Regions from separate parts of the Homo sapiens genome. Here region 1 is linked to region 2. Evidence: promoter capture Hi-C in human tissues and cell types (Jung and others, 2019). All regions are on one chromosome and are shown on one strand. The core of a region is centred on a gene start or on the middle of the fragment in contact, and the rest is flanking DNA. Distances in the headings are between cores, read along the strand shown. Region 1 has its middle 99 kb from the start of GRIK1. Region 2 holds the start of KRTAP24-1 (keratin associated protein 24-1).

Region 1 (3,855 bases), core at 447-2,946, 240 kb before region 2:
GCAAGCTCCACCTCCCGGGTTCACGTCATTCTCCTGCCTCAGCCTCCCGAGTAGCTGGGACTACAGGCGCCCGCCACCACGCCCAGCTAATTTTTTTTTTTTAATACACTGTTTTTAAAAACAGGCTTACGGGCCATAGTTTGCATACCTTTGATTTAAATCCTTGTGCTACCCTTTGTCATGTCATACACATTGCATATTCTTCAGAGCAAGCGGATAACTAAGTAAGAAAGCACCTTATAATCCAGAACCCCAACCATCACTGTTCTTACACTTGCTCATTCCGTAATTCAGAAAACATTCATCAAATTCTAGCTCTGCCCATAACATTGCAGAATGTCTTTTTATTCCTCTTTTCATCCAGTATTCACGATTGCCGCCCTTAATTGAGCATTTCTCTATCTGGATTCCCTTCAGAGCTTCCAGCAGCCCTGAGTCTGCCTCAGTGTTGTTTTTTTTTTTTTTTGCTAGAGGATTAATATATATGTATTTATAATGTATATATACACATATTATATATGTATATATAATACATGTTAAAACGTTTACAGAATGTTTCTGCTATCTATAAATGATTTTAACTTTCCTGCCTGTCATATATTTTATGTAAATACTAGAATAAAAACATTTTAAAAATACAGAAATGTGTGATGAATACAGGAAATGCCATCTGCAATTCTCCCACCATATAGATCTTAGAGTTTTGAACTGTATTTAGTGGAAACTAGTCGCTGCCTCTCAGCCACTAGAGGACTAATATCTATGATTATTAGAGAAGTTGAAATAAAGTGTCTTTCTAATGACTCTTTCTCAAAGCAGATCACAGGTTGATTTAGTGAAACCAGGTCGTCAGTATGCGGCCAAGTGTTGCTGGTGCCTGCTCTAAAGCAATATGAGGTGGGTCACTTCTCCTTTCTTATCAGCAGCCACTCAGATCTCTTCATTCGTCTTTATTCAGGAAGCTCTTAGAATTTCCCACTGGTATCCTTATCCTGTCCTTCTAAATTTAATTCTAAGACCAAGGCCACATGTTATATTGGTCAGATTAGTTAGACCCAGAAAATATGAGAGATATCAAAACAATTTATTTCACTTGGAAAAACAACACTTTAAGCAAAATTCAAACTCTATTATGTCCAGGAAAGCTTTTGGTGACTTTTCCAGACTTCTGGTGAGTGTAGAATAATTGACAAGTGGAGCTTGTTTGTCCATGGAGTGAAGAAGAATGGGTGATTTAGTAAATCACAGGCTGAAATGCATTTTAATAAACAACTTCCTTATTCAGTTCAGCATTTGAATGTCTTGTTGCTTACTTTGATTTGAGGTCTGCAATATCTAAATCTTTTTCAAGTGTTTCACAAAAATAACCTTTCCATGTGTTACTCACCCAAAGCTTCATTAATTAACTCTCCTGTGGTCAAAAGGTGAATAGAAATGATTTGTGGCAATCCTCTCCCATGGACCAAAAGATGCCAATTATCTCCCATTAACCATTCACAAAATCAAAGACACAAGCACATAGAAATGAGGGATACAAAGATAGGGAAGCAGGACAAAAAACACCAGTTACTGAACTGGTTGATGAAATTGATGGATTTTCCTTCTTTTTCCTTTTTTTTTTTTTTTTTTTTTTTTTTTTTTGAGATGGAGTCTCACTCTGTTGCCCAGGCTGGAGTGCAGTGGAGCGATCTCAGCTCACTGCAAGCTCTGCCTCCTGGGTTCAAGCAATTCTCCTGCCTCAGCCTCCCGAGTAACTGGGACTATGGGCACCTGCCACCACACCCGGCTAATTTTTTTGTATTTTTAGTAGAGACGGGGTTTCACCGTGTTAGCCAGGATGGTCTCAATCTCCTGACCTCATGATCCGCCTGCCATGACCTCCCAAAGTGCTGGGATTACAGGCATGAGCCACTGCACTTGGCCTCTTTTTCCTTTTATAGGAAGCAGAATCACCTGCTTTTGCTCATTCCCAAATATGATTTGGAAACAAGATAATGTTAGCTGATCTTTCTCTCCACTTGTTAGGTGTTGCAACACTTGTAGTTCTGTCACCCTCTGATCCTTGGAGGACTGAAGAACTTTAGCAGAGAGGGAGAGTAAGAGTCCATGATAAAATAAAAATAAAGAGAAGAAGATGGGAGAAAAGCAACCTAGACCATCTACAACAGAACTTACAGAAAAAAGACAAGAAAGGGACAATTTATTTTTACAAAATAGTTAATATTTTCTCTTTTGGCAAGCATAATGAATTTTTATTTTGCATTTTTATTTGGATAATTTTCGATTTCCCAAATACTTTAGATAGTCTTAATTTTTGTTATCTGTGTACTTTCTCCTCAACATGCTCAGAGATACTTTCTTAACTTATAAAAAGAAATTAGTCCTCATTTTTAGATGAAAGCTCAGTTTAAAGAAGTCAGAGCCCCCATAGACAGAAACAGAGCCCGTTCTTGCTGGGTTGGAGTTACATGGAGCCCCCCAGCAACACCCTTCTCATGTGAAAGCACAAAGGCAGTGACTCATGTGGTGCATTTGAAAGATTCAGAATGCCCCTTCGCTGCAGAATATCACCCTTACTGTTCCCAGGGCTGCAGTAAAGTTCCTTCATTTAAGTCCTTTTTTAAAGGATAAAATCTGATAGCAAGTAAGAAAAACATTTACTTCCTTGAATTTGCTAATTATACCTCCAGACAACCACGATAAAGAAGCTAAATACATGTGTCATAGGATGGTTTCTTGTGACTGAAATGATGGAAGGAAAAGGAGAAGAGGAAGGCAGGTGAGGACTTTGCTATAAACGTTTATTGATTTCAAATGATCCCCTCCCTCTTTTCCTTCCTGCTCCCTAGCTCTCTTTATCTGTCCCTCCTTCTCCCATTTTCCTTTTCTTCTCCTTCTCCCTTTTTTTCTTCTTTCATTCTTCTCTTTCTTCCTTCAATTCTTCTTCAATATTCAGTGGAAAAGCCATTGCATGGGAATGAACACAATGGCCATTGACACAGGAGGATGAAGGAAGGCACAGCAGTCTGTTGGGGATGCAGGATATGAGTATGACAAGAAGGGCACCTGTGGAAAGTTGGGGTGCAGGGTGTGGTAATGAAGGTGGCCAATCAGAAGTGGAAAGAAGAGAGCATCTGCAGGAAGGTGAGGACAGAGTAGCTTGGTCCACAGAAGGAGGAACAGCTAAAGCTAAATCAGGGTGGTTTGAGCCTGATTGTGGTAAGGGGGACATTTGAGAAAGAGGTTGCAGCAGGTGGTGAAGTGTAGGGGGCAGGTCAAAGCTAGGTGGGGGCAGCTGTAGTTAGGAGCTTGGGCAGAGTATCGAATGCTGAATTAAGGGTGGCATATCCCTTCCACTTTGGGAGCCAATAGTGGTCCCTAGCAAGTTGTCGAGATTGTGAGTAAGGACCAGAGGACACCTGTTGGGAGGTATATGACAGATCAATGGTAGATTGGTTACATCCAAAGACAATTCTTATAGTAAATTGATATTAGAAGTTAAACAGAAGCCAGTTTTTCACTGTTGGGAATAGATTAAAAATACAGAAATGGGGAAAGTTAGAAATGAATCTTTTGTAGTTGATTTAGAATTGGAGTTATTAATGTTAACTTATACCTTTCAATACATATTTAGGTAGGGATAATTAATGATGTAAATGGCTTATTGCTAAATTGTTTTTTTTTTAATTGTTGAACTGTGAGAGTTCTTCATACATTCCACATACGAGTCCTGTATCAGATGTATCTTTTTCAAATATCTTCTCCAAATTCTGTGGGCTATATTTTTCTTTCTTGATAATGTCCTTGAAAGCACAATGCTTTTAGTTTTGATAAATTCTCAGTGGCTCACACCTG
Region 2 (3,741 bases), core at 587-3,086:
CATACACCTGCCTTGGCCTCCCAAAGTGCTTGGATTACAGGCATGAGCCACCGCATCTGGCCCCTTCTTTGTATCTTTAATTTAGACTCTAAACTAAATGGCAGGAAAGCAGCATTTTGACAATGCTATGTATATTGCCCAGAATATGGATGAAATTTTAGTAAATGTGAAATAAAGCATAAGGAAAGCCATTACTTCCAGACAGAAATTTGTTTATTAACTAAGAACTAGGACATTTTCCAGAGTCAGAATGCAATAAATTGGCAAGGCAAGATGATAGGAGAATCCTAAACGCAGATTACACATAATTGTAAAGGGTCTCTAACAGTATTTGTTCTTCTTTCAACAAATAATTTTCATGCTTTAGCTAATTCTGAGGCTTTTTCTTAGGCATGGAGAACAAAAGCTGAGTACCAGTGAATCTTGTTTTATGGCTTCTCTGGAAGAGAAGATTTGCTGAAGTCTTCTATTTTTGAGCTCTAGTCACCATTGCTATTTGCCTGTTCTTACAATCAATCAGTAAGAAAAGGATGAAATAGTTCAACTTATTATGCTCAAGATAGTGTTTTCTATCGGCTTATTAGCAAGGTGCTAGTTAGGTAGTTGACAAAAATATTAATGACAATCAAAGCCATCCGAATGAATTTGCATGCTGGAATCTGCAGTCAAACCATGGAGGCCCCATTTCATCAGGAAAGGTAGGTGATAATCACACTGTCAGACAAGTGACAGTGACAGCCAAAGTAAGAAAGCCGGTGATGGTTGTATTTCAAATGGAGTCTCTTCGGTAAGTCCATTGTAATAAATCTCAGAAATAATGATGTTACCTTCAGGGTCAGCTTTTAGTACAAAGAGCAATAACAGAACAACAGAAAAAAGAAAACCTAGCAGGTGATACTGGCTGTGGTTAATAAACCTGGGAGTTGTATTTGAACTTAATGTAACAAGATTCTTAGGCTGAATAAAGAGATTCAGCAGAAAATTAGACGTTCTAGTACTTAGTAGAATCTTCCCCATTGGGCAATTTCCAGCTGCTATAAATTCTGGAAGTTGGTCAATAGCATTTCAGAGGTCTGCTACCACTGCACAAATACCTCAGAGGTGGAAAGGTACTGGGTATATAGCTCAGAGATCTGAAGCTTCTAGATAAATAGCTCAGTGGTCGGCAGCTCGTAGGCCTGTAGCTTGAATAGTGATAATTTCTCACTAAATAGCTTTGGGGTTGGCAGCTGTTGGAAATATAACATAATGGTGAGACGTAGCTGGGTATGAAGCAAGGATTTTGGTAGCTTTTATACCCCAAAGTACTCAATCTGCAGTGGTTTAGAGTTTGGAAACTCTTGGATAAGCAGTTAAGTTGTCCAAAGCAGTTGGAACCGTTGCGGAGGGTTTGGCAGGCTTTGGATGCATTTCGAGTGGGTATGTGGCAATTGCATACATACCCATTGGTCTGGGTGCTTGGGCTGCAGCTGGGGCTGGGGCTGACGTTGGTAGTTTCACAGACACTGAAGACTTGGCCTGCTGATGGGGAGTTGCAGGGCACAGAGGAGTTTGACGGGTCACAACCAGTGGTACTGCAGGTCTTGGGCTCACAGCTGGGAGATTTGCAGGTTGGTGCTTCACCGTAGGATTCTTGGCAGTAATCCAGGAGCCAGAGATTTCCTTGGTAGCTACTGGGTAAGCAGTGTCCAAAGGTAGGGCTTAAATCACTGGAGCTAAGAGTAACAGAAGAGGTCACTGGGATATAACAGTGAGTTCTGTATGATGTGGTACTGCAGACCCCAGGATAGCCTGTAGTAGACATGGAGCCTGCAGGCATGCTCAGTGGTCGCTGTGCAGTGTGTCTGTGGCCTAAGGACGTTTTATACCTTCCCTGGTGATTGTCAAAAGCCTCTCCAGACTCTTTCTTCTGTCTGCTTGGGGCAATAACACAGCAACATCTCATTAGTGTGTTGGTTAGCCACAGAGGCTAATGTTTTCACACGTGTAAAAATAAGTTTATTTTAATTCTTCAAAGTATCCATAATCACCACTTTGACCATCACCCATCACTCATCATCTGTAGACCATACCTTCAGCAAATAGTGATTTTCATGTTAATAGGCAAACTCTCATCTGTCAATCAGAGGTTAACAAGAGTTCATGGGTCTATGGGCTTCTGCAACATGGTTATTTAAAGGTTCACAAGGACTCAAGTAAAGCAAGTAACCTGTATTTTTCCACGCTGTTAACTACTGGAAAACACTGAAGGACTTAATCATATACTCTGAAATAAGTCAAGTAGTTTGTCTGTCTCAACATGGTTACTCAAAAGCAGGCATTGACCTTTCAAGAATCAGTTTTCCAAATATGTGCTATACTCTTACCTGTGCAGGGCCATATACTGGTAACGGCTTCTCATGTAATGTATTAGGAGAAGTTCATAGGTAAGACTCACAGCAATACTTGGGAAACTTGGTGACCAACACCTGGCTAAAAATGAACTTGTTCCCAGGGGGCATTTGTTGCTAAGCAACCAAGACTTCTGTTAAATCCCTTCTTAAAGAGTGTCGGCAATATGCACTATCAAATAAACCCAGCTTTGCAAGATGATACCTTCCTAATTGACTAAGATTACATATCACATGTTCCATTGCCTGCTGTAAACCCCAATTGCTGTCAGATGTAAATATTTTCCCCGTTTTTCCCCAAATAAGTTCTCTTATTCTTTATTTGCTTTCTTTTGCACCTACACTTTATTTTACTCCTGTGTTGAAAAATGCAGTTATTTTTAGTTTATGTCAATGAAAGGAAATAACTCTTTAAAAGTTTTATCTGAATAAACTGTATAGTTCTTACAAGCACTGTATATATGAAATAGCACTTTTTACTACTCAGGGTGAAGGCTAAAGAATTTTTTTAAAGATTTTAATTTATACTGAAGAACTGAAATTTTGTTCTTCAAATATAAAATTATAATTTATAATTCCAGCCTCTATTGAATTGGAAACAGCAATGCATTTATTAACTGTGAAGAGTTCAGACAGAGAATAGAACAGTCTTCTTCAGGTATAATCAGCTATAGGGATAGTTTTTTAAATTAACTCTCTTTATAGCAAACTATGAGATTTCTCTCACTGTTTTCGGTTACTTTTCAGTCAGATTTTTCAAATGCACAGCAATTTAAACCTACAGATATTCTCTTTTTTTTAAAAAAGATCTCCATTTTCTCAGTGCTTTTCTCAGTATTTGTTCTGTAAGTTGACAATAAGCAATTCTGTATTAAACATGTTTTGCTGCCTTCTGCAGTATCTCTCAGGTGACAAAGGCCACAATCATGAAACTGTATTTCCAGTAAATTGTTTGGCTATAGAGAGCCTTGGGATTTTGTGCGGAAAATGTTAGTCCTGAGGCAGGCAAAATAGGAAAGAAGATACATGGGCAGTTAGTTGACGGCCAACTTTCCGCTAAGTTACTGAGCCCCAGTGATACACAGAAAAGCCACAGGTTGATGAAGCTTTATTTCTACAGTTCTCTATTGTATCATTGTTGCCTCTAGTCTTTTTTTCTTAGGCATCCTTGAAGCAGGTTTGAGGGCTAACACCATTAACAAACACAGAATGAGTTAAGTCAGTTACTGTAAAGCTCACATTCTTCCCTTCCATCTTAAAATTAAATAGTGAGGTATTTTGAATTAATTTGATTCACACAGGTGTAAGTCTAAAAAATAATGTGGAACATCATATGGCATGACCAATATTC

The links. Contacts are between HindIII fragments. The study calls those that stand out against the background at their distance.
Region 1: a contact is called between a fragment that was not itself captured here and the fragment with the promoter of KRTAP24-1 in region 2, in 2 of the 25 tissues and cell types used here (H1 embryonic stem cells and adrenal gland).

The regions. Positions count from the first base shown.
Region 1 is chr21:30,036,655-30,040,509 of GRCh38, forward strand. No RefSeq gene overlaps it. Among named protein-coding and RNA genes, the nearest start is that of GRIK1, 99 kb to the left of the region's middle. The HindIII fragment of the contact is 6,391 bases long and covers 1-3,855 here.
Region 2 is chr21:30,281,114-30,284,854 of GRCh38, forward strand. KRTAP24-1 (keratin associated protein 24-1) reads right to left here and starts at 1,837. Exons shown (of 1, transcript NM_001085455.3): 1 at 196-1,837. The coding sequence starts at 1,819. The coding sequence ends at 1,055. The HindIII fragment of the contact is 1,878 bases long and covers 440-2,317 here.